Regions from separate parts of the Homo sapiens genome. Here regions 2, 3, 4, 5 and 6 are each linked to region 1. Evidence: promoter capture Hi-C in 16 types of primary human blood cells and fetal thymus (Javierre and others, 2016). All regions are on one chromosome and are shown on one strand. Each heading gives the region's core, a stretch centred on a gene start or on the middle of the fragment in contact. The rest is flanking DNA. Distances are from core to core; before and after follow the strand shown. Region 1 holds the start of OSGIN2 (oxidative stress induced growth inhibitor family member 2). Region 2 has its middle 21 kb from the start of TMEM64. Region 3 overlaps LINC01030 (long intergenic non-protein coding RNA 1030). Region 4 has its middle 31 kb from the start of LINC01030. Region 5 has its middle 520 kb from the start of PARAIL. Region 6 overlaps LOC124901975 (a long non-coding RNA gene).

What was found. The method cuts DNA at HindIII sites, captures the fragments that hold promoters and counts their contacts. A CHiCAGO score of 5 or more calls a contact.
Region 2: a contact is called between a fragment that was not itself captured here and the fragment with the promoter of OSGIN2 in region 1, in 4 of 17 cell types (total B cells, non-activated CD4 T cells, total CD8 T cells and 1 more). The highest score is 6.0, in total B cells.
Region 3: a contact is called between a fragment that was not itself captured here and the fragment with the promoter of OSGIN2 in region 1, in 4 of 17 cell types (activated CD4 T cells, non-activated CD4 T cells, naive CD4 T cells and 1 more). The highest score is 7.4, in activated CD4 T cells.
Region 4: a fragment that was not itself captured here is called in contact with the fragment with the promoter of OSGIN2 in region 1 in 10 of 17 cell types (non-activated CD4 T cells, total CD4 T cells, activated CD4 T cells and 7 more); the score reaches 12.3 in non-activated CD4 T cells.
Region 5: a fragment that was not itself captured here is called in contact with the fragment with the promoter of OSGIN2 in region 1 in 1 of 17 cell types (naive CD4 T cells); the score reaches 6.7 in naive CD4 T cells.
Region 6: a contact is called between a fragment that was not itself captured here and the fragment with the promoter of OSGIN2 in region 1, in 3 of 17 cell types (naive CD8 T cells, erythroblasts and total CD8 T cells). The highest score is 7.2, in naive CD8 T cells.

Annotation. Positions count from the first base shown.
Region 1 is chr8:89,901,174-89,903,924 of GRCh38, forward strand. OSGIN2 (oxidative stress induced growth inhibitor family member 2) reads left to right here and starts at 1,397. Exons shown (of 6, transcript NM_001126111.3): 1 at 1,397-1,664. The coding sequence starts at 1,621. LOC124901974 (a long non-coding RNA gene) reads right to left here and starts at 1,233. Exons shown (of 2, transcript XR_007061001.1): 1 at 846-1,233. RefSeq lists enhancers at 1-41, 42-807 and silencers at 1,101-1,399, 1,149-1,488, 1,519-1,968. The HindIII fragment of the contact is 4,461 bases long and covers 1-2,751 here.
Region 2 is chr8:90,665,378-90,668,128 of GRCh38, forward strand. No RefSeq gene overlaps it. Among named protein-coding and RNA genes, the nearest start is that of TMEM64, 21 kb to the left of the region's middle. RefSeq lists an enhancer at 1,030-1,530. The HindIII fragment of the contact is 3,241 bases long and covers 1-2,751 here.
Region 3 is chr8:90,592,419-90,595,169 of GRCh38, forward strand. LINC01030 (long intergenic non-protein coding RNA 1030) reads right to left here. Exons shown (of 3, transcript NR_104062.1): 2 at 1,414-1,553; 3 at 357-685. Among named protein-coding and RNA genes, the nearest start is that of LINC01030, 12 kb to the right of the region's middle. The HindIII fragment of the contact is 1,209 bases long and covers 820-2,028 here.
Region 4 is chr8:90,573,805-90,576,555 of GRCh38, forward strand. No RefSeq gene overlaps it. Among named protein-coding and RNA genes, the nearest start is that of LINC01030, 31 kb to the right of the region's middle. The HindIII fragment of the contact is 7,285 bases long and covers 1-2,751 here.
Region 5 is chr8:89,238,954-89,241,704 of GRCh38, forward strand. No RefSeq gene overlaps it. Among named protein-coding and RNA genes, the nearest start is that of PARAIL, 520 kb to the right of the region's middle. The HindIII fragment of the contact is 4,416 bases long and covers 1-2,751 here.
Region 6 is chr8:90,471,018-90,473,768 of GRCh38, forward strand. All of the region lies in intron 3 of LOC124901975 (a long non-coding RNA gene), which reads right to left. Among named protein-coding and RNA genes, the nearest start is that of LINC01030, 130 kb to the right of the region's middle. The HindIII fragment of the contact is 1,329 bases long and covers 673-2,001 here.

The DNA of each region.
Region 1 (2,751 bases), core at 147-2,646:
AGCTGGGATTACAGGCGCGTGCCACCACGCCCGGGGCTAGGTTTTGTATTTTTAGTAGAAACGGGTTTCACCATGTTGGTCAGGCTGGTCTGGAACTTCTGACCTCAGGTGATCCGTCCGCCTCGGCCTTCCAAAAGGAATTTAGGTACTTTAAAATGCTGTTATGTATGTTAACGGAAAAGTAACTACATGCTTCATTTTCAGAACCAACATTCAAATGAAATGAACGTGTCAAATCGACAAAAGCTCAAAAAAGAGAAAAACATATAATACTTAAAAGTGGTTAATATACTCTTAGATTGCATAACTCTGGGGCAGTCTGAGTCCTATGATTTTCTTTTAAGACCCCAAGACTCTAAAATACCTGCTCATCACAAGTTTGTTCAGTGACAACATTCAGTAAAACTTAACATTTGTTTTACAAAATTATGTTGAAAGATATAAACATAAACGTATATTTGAAGCACAAAAATAATTACGGCTTTTTTTGGAAGCGGAGTTAGACATTTCCGTAGAAAAGTAGATGCAATCAATCTCTCCTGATTTTTGTCCTCCCCACCTTTAATTTTTGACAAACCGAATAACGACACTCACTATTGAGTACTTTTCTAACTCCCTATTGCATCACAAACGCCCGCAGGGGCTTAAAAAGCAGCAGGGGTTCCTGCCCTTCCCCACACTGGCCGGTGTGGTCTGGGGCGGGCCTGATGAGCACCTGGATTTTCACCCGGCGTGCTGGTAATTCCTACACTTGTGGGTGTTTGAGAGACATGAAGAGGGGAGGATGACCTCTTCCCGGAAGCGGGACTTCCATAAAAGAAGCGTGGTGGGCGGGTCCCGGGCACCTGTGGTTTGGTGAGTCCTCCAGGTAACTGTGATGCGGGGGTCAGCGGGAGAGGCACCCGGAAGCTCCCGGCGTCTGCACCCCGGCAGCGCGAGGAAATGCCCAAAGGTGGGTTCTCAGGCGTGGGAAGCTCGACCCTTCCCGGGGTCCTCGGCGAAGTGGCCGAGGCCGCGCCTTACGCAGGGAACTCCGCCGGGCCATCTGGGTGGCCCGAGTTCGCAGCAGCTTCTCTTCCGCTCGTCCCTCGGCCCTCTCGACGCGCACCCACCGGCCTCACCAAGTCGCACGCAGAGGGGCGGCGGGGCGCTGACCGAGGTCTAGGTCTCGATTGCCGCCGGTCGAGCCGCGCAGTTTGCCTGCAGACCTCGGTCCCCTGCCCGCGCAGCCTCGGCTCCATCAGGCCCGGCCCCTCGCCCGGGCCGTGGCTCCACCAATCGCAGACTTCGCCCGCCGCAGCCGCACCTGCGAGGAGGGGCCCGCGCGCCGCTGCAGCCGCCGTCGCAGCGTCCCCGCCCCGCTCCGCCCCTATCGCGGCGCCCCGAGATCACCCGCCTCCGGCGCCTGGCTCCCTGCAGGCGAGGAGCGGAAGCCGCTATCTGGAGGCGGACTCCGGCGCCACAGAGCCGGGGCAGCCGCGGCAACGGCGAGGCGCGAGGCAGGGGCGCCCGGCAGACCCCGCGACCCCGAGCCAGCGGGCGCCCCGAGCGGGCAGCCTCGCCGGGGGAGGCGGAGGCGGCCACGGCGGCCGCGCTCGGGCGCCCCTCGCGCAGCGCTCCATGCCCGTGTGGTGCTGCCGCTGCTCCCTGGCCGGTCATTTCAGGTGACTTCCTCGCCGGGGATGGGAGGGGAGCAGGCGGGGATGCCGCGCTCTCGAGCTTTTTGGCCTGGCCCGGGCCGGGACCGGGGTGGAGGGCGAGCGCCTGGACCGCAGCGTCCTCCCGCCTCGGCCGTCCTGCCTGGCGTGGGGGTGGGGTGGGGTGCGGTGTGGTGGGGTCCTTGCTCCGGGGAGCCCTGCGCTGTTCCCTTTTCTCGCTCTGGACCGCGCGGGTCACGGGACTGCGGGATCGGCTAGGCCGGACTGAGTCGGTTACGGCGAGCTGAGACTTCCCAGTAGTGCAAAGTTTTAGTGAAGGGGGTTCTACGAAGTGCCTGCCTCCCTAAAAAAAAATTATTTCTTAAAAAGTCTTCTAAATAATGTAATGAGTGGAAGGAAGGTAGGGAACTACATTTCAGTGTCATCTAATCACAAATAGATTCTGCCTTGTTAAGATGTTAGCCATGGTAAGACGTGTGTGTTGTAGAAATTTAAAGAATGAGGCGGTTTTACAATCACCTTATGGGGAAAGGTTTTAGGGGTGATAAAATATAATACATTTCTAAAATAAAAGTATGTTTTCTAGATCTAGCACATTTGGTCAACACCTCAGTCATTGGTGGAAAGACCAGACACTAGAAACTGATTTTAACCCTGGGGTGAAGAATGGTTAAGCATAGGGAATACTTTAGTACCTTGCTTTACATATACTGATGTTCCAGAATAATTCTATGTAAGACTTCTTCCCTGGTAAAATATGAAATTTTGATCAAGCCTTCCTAAATAGTGGGTTTCATACAATTTAGGTAACCCATGAACTTGGATGGAAAGAAAGGTATATCATTTCACTAAATTTTAAAAACTAATATTCAGTTAAAATATAAGCAACAAATCACAGTAGTATCTGTGACTGTCATCAGTAGAGATCATAAAATATGTTTATATCACATTGCAGTTAATATAGAAATACTGTTTATACTTATTCAAAATTATAGTAACACATCACTGAATTTATTGAATGCAACAGAGAAGCACATATATATATCGCGTTTACTTTTTATGACTGTTTTAATAGAATTAGTTTTCTTGTAAA
Region 2 (2,751 bases), core at 94-2,593, 760 kb after region 1:
GTGGCTGCAGAGAATTTTGGCTAGGGCCTCCTGGCCTTGCATTTATAGCCCTATGCACTTCTGTCAGCAGGTTTTTTACTGGGTTATGCAGTTCCACTCCACCCTTCCTGTGCGGAGATCTGCATGCAGAGGGACCCTCTCTGCTTTATGCCAGGCAGATCTGCAGGCACTTGGAACACCAGTTCACCTTGTTCAGTTGATATTACCCAGATGTTGCTTATAGGTAAGAGCTGGCTGTGGCCAATGCAGCTGGGTATGTACTTGATCCTTGTTTACTGGAAGAAGATATCTGTTGCCTCTGACAATGCACTGATTTATGGGGTGCACAGTGGTCTGAGCTCCCTGCTCAGCCCTGGGTGGTGGAGGGGCAAGATGAGTAGAGTTGGACTGGGAAGGTCCACCTGCAGATCCTCCAATGGCAGGCATAAGTACCACTACTGAGGGAGCATCTAGTGAGTGGCCACCAAGTGCCCAAAGGTATGCCTAGGTGTGGAGCTGAGAAACCTCTTCAGCCCCAGTCCTCTGCATGGGAATGAGGATAGTGGGTACTCTAGGTTCCTGGAGATCTGCCTAGGTATGAGGTGGAGAGGGCCCCTCTGCACCCAGATCTCTGCACAGGAAAGGTGGATCAGCTCAGGCTGCTGAATCAGGTGAGCTGTTCCAAATACTTGAAGATCTGCCTGGGTATGAAGCAGAGAGGGTCCCTCTGCACCCGGATCTTTGCACAGGAAGGGTGGGGTGGCTCAGGTTGTCAATCCAGGTGAGGAGATACTTTGAATGCCTGGAGATCTGCTGGGCATGGAGCGGAGACGGCCCGACTACACCACAATCTATATATAGGAAAGGTGGGGCAGCTCAGGCTGCTGATCCAGGCGAGGGGTGCTCTGAATACCTGGAGAGACCTGCCTGTGTATGGAGCAGAGAGGGACCTGCTACACCATGTTTATGTCCCATGCTACACCATGTCCATGTCCATGAAGGATCAGGCAGCTCAGGCTGCTGGTCCAGGCAGGTGGGTGCTCCGAGTGCCTGGATTTCTGCCTAGGGGTGGAACAGAGAAGACCTTGCTGCACCATGATCTCTGGGGAGCAGGCTGGGGCACCCAGCAAGGACACATGCAGACTGATTCCAGGTCACCAAGCTGGCCCTAGCTGCAAGTCTTGCCACCCAGGAGAAACTACAGCTGTAGCAGCTCTCTCCTGCCCCAGCCTTGTGATAGGAGAGAGCACAATTCCAGTGCCTACTGCTGAGGTACTTCCCAAATTGTGGCTATGTAATTCCCTACCCCACTCCAGGGCAGGTGCTCCAATCTCTTGGCAGAGACTAAAATGCTTCCACAGCCAGGCTGCTAGGTTGACAAAGAATGGCTGACTGTGTATGCATCTGGATTTAAAATGGCATCCTGCTTTAGGTCCCGGGTCTGGGAAAATGCCTGCAGCTTTTTCTGGTGTCTTTCCCTCACAGTGTCTCCAAGCCTCTCCCCAGTTTATTCAGAGCTTGGGAGAAACAAAGTGCTTTCCCTTGGCCTGGGTTGCTTGGATCCCCAGTGGAAAGGTAAGTCACAGAGGAAGGTTTTCTGCCTCTTTCACATACTGGGGCTTCACACACTTTTAGTAGCCAGATACTGTCACAGGAGCTGTTTGCCCACATTATCCTCCCTGGGATCTGGGGTGTCCTTCACAATTCCAGTGGATTCCCATTTTCCTTCCTGAATTAAAGCTCACAAAATTGATCTTTAGGCACTATCTTGTTATTTCCCAGTTGCTGAGGCATGCTAAAAGCCTCTAATCTTGGAGGGCAAAAACTCCTTTCTAACTTTCTATAATAAAATCTGATAGATATTTACGTTTGTTTATTTGCAATTTAAAGTGTCAGCTTTATTCTACAAATGTAAATAGGTGGAAGGAGATAGCTGTGGGGTCTCTAATGCCTGTCCTCCAGGGAAGACAGCTGGGTTCACAGTTGTCTTCCCCAGGATCAGTTAGAGAAGCTGGAGAATCCCATTAATCTCTTTTAAGGAATCCCTACGTATGTAGGGATACCTTTGTATGGCAAAGGTAGTGTTGAAGAGTCTTTTTGTGACTTACCAATTCATGAGGCACATAAGCACCAAGGAGCCAGCATTGTACATATTTTACTTAATCCAAATTCATTGTAAATGAGAAGTATAAAATGATATTTAGAAACTATTGTCCAATGGAAGAGAAAAATCAAATGGGATCACTGACATACTCAATTTTAGCTTAAGTTAAAAAGAAAAGGTGATAAAATTATATTTTTGTTTAAGTACCTAGGTATCTACTATGATTTTAGAATGCCACATGGTGGTTATCAATTCATTAGACAGAGGCTTGAAATGTATTTGTATACATATGTAGATGCATATAATTTTAATGAATTATCTTTTTGCCATTAAATTCTATGTATAGCTTATCTCAGCAGTATTGGTTTTTGGTAATATATTGTTTGATAAATCTTTGGAAAAGTTATCATGAAATCCATTGTTGTTCTATTCAAGCAGCCAGAAAGCACTTTATTTTAAGCATGATTCAGGTGGTAGAAAGAATAAAATCAGTTTTGTGTTGGTGTTGCTGCTTTTTCACTCTGAAAAAGATTTTTGTTGCGTTAAAGCCATTTTGCTTCTCGAAGTGAATCTTCTTTCCTATATTTTCAGTAAGGTTTCTTATGGGCATTTTCAAATAAAATATATAAGTGGAGACATATTAAACCAGTAATATTGCTTTCCAGGTG
Region 3 (2,751 bases), core at 174-2,673, 690 kb after region 1:
GAATAAATAAATGCTTGTTATATTTTAGAAAAGTTAGAAGTGTAACTATCAAATTTATAAGAATTCCTAATACTTTATAATTCCAAATCTATAAACTAGTACACTCCAGATCATTTTTGATCATGTATTTCATCAACAAATTGTTTTTGAGCTGTACCTGATACATACATCATAGTAATAGTACATAATTTCAAGTATAAATTACTATTATGCACATTATAAAAGATTTATGTATATTTTAAAATATATACAAAAATAGAAAATAAAAAACAATGAGAAAAGAAAAAAAAAAAAAAACAAAACCAGAAACTAATAGAGGAAATAGAACCCTCCCAAGAGGCAATCTTGTGGACCACTCTGGAAACCACATGAAATATTTTAATAAGTGATTCCTGATTTTTTTTTCATATAGACAAGTTCTACATATGGGATATTTTATTTCTGATTTGAAGAAATATAATATTATGCATGCAGCATTCCTAATTCTTAATTTAAAGGCACACCTTAACAGGTACTTAATCAACAGATTCTAACTATTTTCATTACAAAAAATATTCCAACCACAAGCATCACTGAGATCACCATTGACTCTTGAATGGATTCAGTGTATTATGTCACCACATCCTGGACAAGGAATTTCAAACATGTACAGTTGTATGGCCTTCTCGAAGCCTTATGTTTCTTACTGCAAGGAACAGAGAAGAATAGATAGATTTAATATTTAAAAAATAACACTAAAGGCCTCAATAAAAGAAAAATAAAGACGGAAAGAAGAAAAAAATGTGTAGTAAAAAGGACCATCATTTAAACCTCTCCATAAGCTTCCTAAATAAAATAAATAGTTCAGTATTATCTTTCCCTTATTGAGTAACTGCCTTTAAACATACCACTGAATATTCTGCTGTAGTGGCCAGACCATGGGTCAGGTCTGTCCGGTTTGGATCCAGCTCTGCCACTTACTGTGTGATGTTAGGCAAGTTACCTAACCCAAGTCTTTGATTCTTTATTTATAAAATGGGTTATAGCAGCACCTACACCTCCTAGGATTCCTGGGTGTATTACATTAAATAATATAATGTGAGGTGCTTAGCACGGTGTCTGGGCTACTGTAAGTACTCAATAAACCAGCATAATTGTTCAAAGAAGTAAAAGGATATGTGAAACAAAACATTGCCTTTTCTGATAAAGAGCCCAGGGTTAATGTAAATTATAAACACTTTTTTTTGCTCTTGTTCTTACAGAATTTTTGTCTCCCTTGGTGATCACGGTGTCCTTTCAGATGTCTGTCTGAATCAATGCCATTTTTTTTTAGATTAAAAGGTACAGATAGGAGGCTGTCAAACTTGCTCTGCAAATGAGCAGAGTCCTGAGGGCCAAGGGGATGGATGGATAAGATAAAAGTAATTAAATTACCAAATGTAGTGGTTTCTAGCGGCAGTCTTTGCTTATGCCAGGAAGAGTGCCCAAGGTTGAAAAAGCCTTGAGAGTGGACGGGTAAATGAGGTGGAAACTTCAGTTCTCAAATATGGGAGCCAGCAGCTACAATATAGTTACTAGGAGACAAAAGAGAAACAGTTTCCAGGAGGAAGAAGGCTGGAAAAGTACAACGTACATGTTCACGTATTTCTTTCCTAAATCTAGTATTTACCTGTACACATACTGTGCTACTCATTCTCACAAGCTATCTTTCTCCTCCTGTCTTACAGATGAATCAACCAAGGTTTGGAGACAATAAACTGCTCACCCAAGATTATATAAAGAAAGCAAAAATTGCAGTTAGAAGTGGCATTTGTTGGTTGTAGTAACAGTTATCATAATCTGTGCCATGGATATCAGAAAGGCCAAGTGTGAAGGAGCTGAACCAACTAGAAACTGATTTTTAAGTTGTAGGTTTAAAACATACCAGTTGATGGACAGAGGCCTATTTGCATTGATAAGTCACTGGAGTAAAGAGGTAAAAATCTTAAGAGATTTCACGTGGCTGATTCATTGCTACAGAAACAACTTCCTTGGTATCTGATGGTTATAAGCTTAATGACTCTTGCTTTGTTTCCATGAATGAATTGGCATCATTATGGAGAACTGAGGGAATGCAGACTTTCAAGGCAGGGAAACATTACATTTAGCTCATATACATGATAAAAAGAAACAGATTGTGTAATTACTACACATCTGTGAGCACATTTTTTTTTTTAAATAGAACTTTTCCTGAATAATTAATCACATCTCTTGATTTAGGCCTTGGTAGTTTTTAATAAATTTTAAATATTTATACCGTGTTGCCAACTATTTAATTGCTTACCAACTGCACAATATACAGTCACTTTGGGAGAGGAATCAAGAGGCTGATAAATAAAAGGGTGCTATCCACAGGCTGAAATTTTTTATCCTCACCTGCAATTAAAGTACCCAAGAATTTTTCAAAGCTACCTTTCAGAAGTGTTTTCAGATTTTATACAGTCTTCTTAAAAAAAAGTTCTGCTCCTGTAATGTTGTTGAAATATATTTGGACACCTAAAGTGTGTGCCATAAAGACTGCTTTTCTCCTAGGAACATTATGCCTGTAATTAGTAGATATTATCACGAAGATGATAGAATTTAAGTTTATGGATTGGGACCCATGCAGTACAGAAAGCCCGGCAACCAATGACTAACCAGTCCGGATTCACTCAGCCTTTGCTACCAAAAAAAATCTTAGTAAGCTAGACACAAAAGGACAAATATTGTATGATTCCATTTACATGAGGTACT
Region 4 (2,751 bases), core at 103-2,602, 670 kb after region 1:
CCACCTCCTCCTCCTCCTCTTTGTCATTGTCATCATCACATTAAATGTTATTCACTTAAAAATTATTTTTGAGTATAAAAGTCAAAATGCCTTTCCCATTAAAATTTTCCTTCTTCCTTTTAGATGGCAAATTGCTCAAGGGAGGCAACCTCTCTTTTTGAATGCCACAGATTAACAAAAGTTAAATAGTTGCTATTATAATCCAATCTCTGTCTCCAGTGTAAAGTTGGTGAAGTCTAAATTTAGAACAAATTGTTACATTAAAGGTCAATTCCACAGTGAGGACAAGGGATATATTGCTTTTTGCTTTAAAGTGGGGCATGAGCTGAAGAGGGATGGATTTAAGAGGCATCCTGCTGCCACAGTGCTTGGTGCTTTAAGGACACCAGGGCTGCAGGACCCAGTGAGGGTGGACCTCAAGAGGCTGAGTGATATGTCCCTTACGGCTGACTTTCAGTGACCCACTGCCTGTCAACCAACTGTTGCCTTCCCTAAAACAATCTGCCACTTGGACCTCTCCAAAGAATTGAGAAAATTGAAGGCTGCATGAATTCAACTTCTGAAAAAGCATTTCCACTCAGCCAAGGAGCGAGTGAACAGAGTTTGGGGAGATAACAGTAGTTGCTCACAATAAAACTGCCTTAATCAATAAAGGTAATTCTCATTTTCAAAAAAATAAACACATTATGTTCTTAACTTGGTTTAGTAAATATAAGCACAAGTTTAAATATTAAATTCCACTTATATCTGTGTTAACAGACTTAAAACAAACTCTGATATCTAATTTCCCAGCCATGCTATACTTCTGGTTTCTAAATTTCCTATCCTAAGCATACTGGAATTTGCCCAAACATGAGGAAGCTGTTTCCATTTTGCCCTGTGTTCCGAGTATCTCCCTCTTAGTGCCATCTTCACACTGCCCTATTCCCTACACACCCTCTTTCCATTTAATGATTGAAAAACAGAATAAGCAGATGTTCAGTTAGTCCACTGCTTGGAACATAGTTCACATATCGTGATATTTAATGAATGCTGCATCCTCCTAAAGAGAATATTTAACTTCAATAACTGCACAAATGGCATGCACATGTGTCTGTCCCTTCCTTCGAATCCATGAAAGGGAAAGTCATTCTGGTAAAATATCCAAACTGCCTGTAAAAACATCCTCAGACTTGCTGTGTAAATCTCTGATGGGAAGGACAAGAGAACCCTGGAGGCTTTATTGCCATTGTTGCTTAAATCATACTGCTACCATTCCCCTGAAATGTCTGTATGACGGTACGTTATGAATTCGGTGTTTATGTTCCCCAGGACATTTCTGCAATACTATTTTTGAATAGCAATAATTTTTGAGTTTTTACCAACTTGACTTCAAAATACCATCACGAATCATTCACGTCTTAGCCTTACTTACGTTTTTAGTATTTTCCATGAAAAGCTAGCTCATGTTGCCTTTAGCTAAATGATAATGATCACAAAAATTATTTTGATCAGAAAACTGATTCCCATGGGGTAAGGGCCTCCTGGTCCATCCAGACTCACACTGGTTAGGTTAGCCAATTCTGTATTAGGTTAACAATTAACTTGCCTACTCTGAAAATCAGTCACATTCCTCTGATCAGCCTCCACTGTTTGGATAAAATATATCAAAAAAAAATCTAGAAATATTGGTTCCAAGACAATGCACCAAGATTGCTCCTTGTTCTTAATAAAGAAATCTTCTGAGCTCACGAGAGACAAGGTCTTCTAATCAGTATTCCCTCTTCTTTCTGCCAGGCTTATCTCATGTCAAAAGGAGATATTTTGAAAGGATCATTCAATATATAGACCCAAGGGCCTCTCTGGGGTAGGGAAGAAGGGTGGGGCTAGCAGACACAGAGCTGCCATGTCTGTTTTTAATCTGCAGCTGCTACTGCTGATGAGTTGAACTTAGGAAGGGAATCCTGCCTAAGGGTGGAGCTGCCCTGACTGACTCCCATCTGCCTGGCACACAGCTCATGAATGCATTTTCCAGCACACCATCTGCATCTCTGAGCTCCCTAATATGTGAGAATTTCACTGTGATCTTCCAGCTCTACTGCACACATTATTTTAGCTCACATATAGTATCCTGAGTCCTCTAACTCCTACACTGGATCCTGCTTCTCTGGAAACACCAGATTCCAAACTGGACCAACCAGGGCTACTAAAAACTCCCTGTATATTTGACCCTACTAATTTAGAATTTCCATCTATCAGAAAGCAAATGGTTTCAAGACTGACTCACCAAGTAAACTAGGTAGCAGTTAAAGTTGATCCTGAGTTGTAGATAAGTCTCTTGAGGCCTTTCCAAAAATAAAAATGTAGCAGAATGTTGAAAATGTAGCTTGTGCTCAAGAAATACATATTAAATGCACAACAACAATGATTTTAAATCCCCAACAGAATAAAAAGGTCTCTTTTAATGTTCACCTGGAAAAGTCTTTTAAAGTAATGTAAGAGCCTGGGCACACACCGCAAAAAACTCAGTGCTGTGTAGCTGGGGTAACAAATTCTCATAGGCCTCCAAATCTTTGGTGCTGTGTGTATATATATATACACACACACATATATATACACAGTGTATATATATGCATATATGCACACTATATATAGTGTATATAGACATACATACACACTACATATATACACTATATGTATATATACACATATATAGTGTATATATATATGTGTGTATATATAGTGTATGTGTATATATTTATGTTATTAGGG
Region 5 (2,751 bases), core at 127-2,626, 660 kb before region 1:
CTGTCCTGAGAGATCCTTCTAGGTCTGGTTGGACCTTTATATGGTAATTAATTAAGATTTAGATTCCCAGTTAGGAAGCCCGCTGGGTTAAGGGAATTATCAGTGGTTAATGTTAAATCATCTTTTTCTAACAGAATAGCCCCATACTTTAAGATTTTTGAGTGAGTAAGCTACCTTTTCCCTTTTTTTTTTTTTGACTTAGGATAGTTCTGAACTGGTGCAGTGTGCTCACAATGAGGTTTCCTCTAAAAGTTATTTTTCTACTTTCTTCTGTTAGCAAAGCAGTTGTCGCTACAGATTGAATGTACTTGGGCCATCCACGGGTTACTGGGTTAAGGATTTTTGATTAGGAAGGCTATGGGTTATCAGTGGCCTCAGTGCTCTCAGGTTATGCCCTTGTTCACACTGACAACAAGGTGGTATTGGAGTGTTATAGGGTCATGGAGAAGACCTTCAATTATCAATTATAGGTTTTAAATTTACCCTGGCTTTTAAAGGAATAGAGTACACTGTTTGTTTTCCCTAATACTTCTATCTCTGTCTTTCTCTCTTTCTTTCTCCTTTGACTTTCTGTCTCTCTCTTTCTCTCTCTCTGACTCCCTCTTTGTCTCTCTGTCTCTTCTTCTCTCTTTCTGCCTCTCTCTCTCTTTGACTCCCTCTTTGTCTCTCTGTCTCTTTCTGTCTCTCTCTTTCTCTCTCTCTCTTTCCTCTCTCTCTGCCAGCCACATGTGCTGCTGTTCTCCCCTCTCCTTCCCCTTCCCCTTCCCCTAGGGGAGGGACCAGTGGGAGTGGAGCTATCCTTTCCTCCCCTGAGAAGAAAGGAAAGAGGGGGTTTGTGTGAGGTTCGACCTTTGAAATTAGTGGAAGGCTCAACCCCTCACACCAGGGATGTCTTGCCTTGTCTGTCCCAGAAGGCTCAAACTCTCACACCAGGGGGTGTCTTGCCTTGCTGCCCTGGAAGGCTGACCTGTTTCTTCCTTTTCCCCCTCTGAAGGTCCCTTGCACACTTCCCACTCATGTCGTCCTCTCTGGCTGCTCCCTCAAGGGAGAATTAGGCCCCTCTTAGTGTTGGTGTGCCAGTATAAATCCCATGGCAGGATCCACCCTAAGCCATATGAGGTAGCTATGGAACCGCAGAGAGGACCCACTCACTCTGTCCAGCAGTAGGACTTGTCACCATCCACAAGAACAACACCGCAAGCAGGGTTGTTTGTGGTCACTCATGCACACACACATTTAGCCCTCTAGAATTTGACCACCAGGGAAGTACTTTACTGGTTCCTGCCCCTTCTCCTTCCTTGGTCGGTCCACAGAGTCGTTGCCGCAGAATGTGAAGATCCTTTAAGCTAGGTTGCTGGCCAGTTTTTTTTTTATTTTTTATTTTTTTCTGCATTGCTGAGAGCTGGGGTTATTCCTCCCACTGTGTGGGTCTTGATTTGACTATAGAAGGAAGTGAAGGAAGATAAGGAGGACCCAGATGAAGAAGGAACCATTAAAGAAATTTGAGCAAGGAAATGAGGTTTGCACCTTAGTTTGATAGCATGTGGAAGGGCAGGCTTAGAGAGACAAGCCTGGAGCCAGGAAGAACAGCAAAGAAGCACCTGCTCAGGGGAAAGAGTTATGGATACTTGAACTAGGGGCAGCAGTGTTGATGGAAAGGAACAAAGAAACTGGAAATTTAAGAATTTAGAATTGGTAAGGCTTGTATCTGATTAGATGGTGTGGAGCCAGGGAGTGTAAAAAAGCTAAAACAAACTGCTGGGTTTTTGGTTTGAAAATTTGGTAAGTGATAGTAGAATTCACCGAGCTATTCCAAGTAGACCTTTCACTATCTCACTTTGTTGGCTAGTCCCACTCAGCAGTCCTAAGCAGATGTAGTTGCTTCTCACTCAACATATTTTACTTATAAATATATACATATACTTCTTATAAGGTCCTGGTGCCCCTTGAAGGCATCGAGATATTGCACAGGAATACATTAATAGAATACAGCTAACAGATCTATTTTGGAGCAAAAACCAATGAAGTTCAGTCACTATATCTACCTTATAATTTCACTTTGCATATAGTGCCCTTCTTGAACATTAGACTTAACTGTCATGGGACATTTGAATCAACTATATCAAAAATTGAGGGTAATATATATTTATTAAGGACTTATATAAACAGCTAGGATTACAGAGGACAATTAGCCTTATGAGGACATGCCTAAGAGTAAGACAAACAAGGTTCCCCTCTGTATTAAATAACTTCCAGGGCCCTACAATGCCTTATTATATTATATAAATGTAATTTACACTTTTAAGATCACAGTAACCTGAAAGTCAAAATAGGGTCAAAACTGAAACTAATATTTCTCCAGTTGAATGCTTCCCTGAACTAGAAGAATCTCAGCTTCACTCAAATTCCTCCCAAATAGTTTTGAGAGTCTCCAGATGTCTCACATCTACTTTACATACAAGTTCCCTCAGATCTCCTTCTCTCATGATCCCATTTCAGCTCTCTGTGGTGAATCTGATACCCCACTACTGATGCCAGGATCTACAATGGTTAAGGTTCCACTGCCTGACAAACATGTTAGTGATACTGGTGCTTGCTGTTGTCTGCATTGAGGCTTCTGATATCTGTTACTGAGGATATTGAGGTTTACCCACAGAGAACTCTTGCCTGGTGCTGCTGAAGCTCTTCGTATACCATCTCCTCTGAACAGAGTCAACATATGACTTGTCTTCAATTATAGCCAAAGCTGTA
Region 6 (2,751 bases), core at 87-2,586, 570 kb after region 1:
ACTTTTCCTGAGGAAGACAGACCACTGTTTTGACTTACAGACCATAATGTCCTAGGTCTTGCAAACTAAATAAGGATTCTAATTTTATCATAAAATATTGACTCAAATTGACTGGGAGATATTATATATCACTTATAGAAACCTATGAATTAGCTATTTCAATTTAACAAAAATATTTCTTGTCAATCATTGATAAAAGAATCAATATAACTGTGGCAATATTTTTTAGATCTCAGTTCTCTTATTTTCTCATTGAGCAGAGATCCTCAGAGGCTATTTTTCTAAGACAGAGACATGGGAGTGTGGAGGCCTACAACACCACAGGGATGATTCAGTGCTCAGGAGAGCACGATCCACAGAGGATAGACAGTATGTGTTGCTTTTGGTCATAATCTGAGTAAAGAGGTTCAATCATCGTTGTCTTTGGCCAGGAGAGCATATGCGTTTCTACTCACTTATTCCATAAGGAAAGATCAAGGTCAAGGACAAGGACATTTTATTTAACTCCAGTTTTGGGAACAGTGCTTTCATTCTGATGAGCAAGTCAATCAGTTAAGTTCAGAGTGCATGTAGGGTATCCTGTGCTCTATTTCTTTAGATTTTCTCTTTTATATGTAGCTGGTGACAAGGTGCAGTGCTCTTCACACTTGTTTGCAAAAGGAGTGAACCAAAAGCTTCTCTTCCCAGGATGTGTGTATGGTGCTCCTGTGCGCATACACACACACACACACACACACATCAAATGTGAGGTGCAAAGAGTAGAGATTTGGGGAGCAGGTGAGAAGAGGAAAAGAGGGCTCTGTTCCTCCTTTGTTTTAGGTTCCTTAAATAGAACTCTAGTCTATGCACAAAAAGCCCTTTTCAAGGTCCTTTTCAAGGTCTCTTCTCACATCTCCTGGGACCCGGAGGAGCTTATGTGTCCTGAGGCTGACAAAACATCAGTTTCATCTCTCTGGAATCTTGTATTCCACACTTCCTGTGATTCACTTTATTCTACAATGATGTAGTCAACTTTACAGTGCCATACCTCACAGTGGAAACTCCTTGGTTAACAGCTCTCTTCCCTATGACACTGTAAGTGCCATAAATGAGGAGCCATGTCTGTTTTGTCCTATGAGGGACCCTCCTGCACACAACACAGTGACTTACAGGTAGCAGATACCCGGTGTAATATTCATTGAATTAATAAGAGTTTAAATAAAAGATGCAGGATTTAAACTTCAAACTTCTCATTCTTTCACTTCCAACAGTCTGCCTATAGCATATAAGCCCTTTGGATCCCTCTGAAATGTCACTTCTTCACATGGACTTTTCCTGACCTCCCTATCTACAGTAGCTGTCTCTCCTACCTTCCACTGCCACCCATCATTCTGTACCTCAGCATCCTGTCTTCTTTCCTTCGTGACACTTATCAACTCGTTTTCTCATCCACCCTCCCTCCCTTCCTTTCTCCCATCCTTCCTTTCTCCCAACTCCTTCCTTCCTTCCTTCTTTCCTTCCCTCCTTCCTTCCTTCTTTCCTTCCCTCCGTCCCTCCCTCCCTTCCTTCCTTCTCTCTCTTTCCTTTTGCGATTTATCTCATCCACTCCTACTGTGGAAGCACCATCAGCATGAGGGAAGCGGCTTATTCCCTCCTGTTCTTGATAGCGCACCCATCATCTAACTCAATGCAGAAGCACAATTAGAATAATACTCCTAGTGCTTACTTTTAGGTTAAAATACTGCGATGAGAATGCAACATTTCTGGAAGCAAAAGATACGTCTGATTTTGGAAAATGCATGGTTCTTAGCCCCAGTGGAAAACAAATACATCACTCTTGCCCATAGATTAGGGCAGTTGTGAGATACGATCTCAACAATATCTCACTCTGTCTTTCCCTTTTCCTGGTCAGTCTGAAATATACTAGCTAAAGGTAGCCATCTATCTGCCTTCAGGAAGAATGCAGTTATGTGAAACCATATGCTATTAAAGCACAAATAACTTTCTCCTACATGATTCACAAGCTTGGTAATCTTATATAAAAATAATGTAAATCACCCTAGTGCTAATGAAAGAGTAAATTATTAAGTATTATAGGTGTCAGTATGCCTAAGTGGGTTCATTTTATTTTCTGGAACACCAAACATTATTTCTTTCTCTCCAACTGAGAATTTATATGCCTCAGAGTAGAAATTACTATTTTAGGAGCTCTCAGAGGATGAGCATTTGTTTACCAAATACACAACCACTCTCTTGCACATCCAACTAACATTGAATTGGGTTGTCTCTTTTTCTCCTTTTTGACATGACTTGACACATTAGAATGTGACAAAAGAATTTATATTTGGCAGAAATTCTTGCTCCATATTTAATTACCCTGTCCATACTAATGCCACATTTGAATAAACAACCAATAGCCCAAAACCCTGGAGAAGATTTTAACATAATGTATGAAGATTCTGTCAAGTCCACCTTTGAAGTTGTCTCCTCTAATTATTAGAAACTTACCACTGGTTTCAGTATAATCACTATGGGAGTTAGAATGTATTACACAGCAATTTCAGTTCATGGTCAGTAGTCATGGCAACACAGGAGGATAAATCTTAAAATAAGAAATAATCTCCAAGGGCAAGAGTTTGCATCTTGCTTCCAGATGTTTGCAATTTCATTTTTGGAAATAAATAAGCTATTTGGGTTTTTAAAAGCCTTAAAAATCTATTTTGAAGGTACAATGTTTAATTTTTTTTTCAAAGTGAAAAACTGCACCATGTT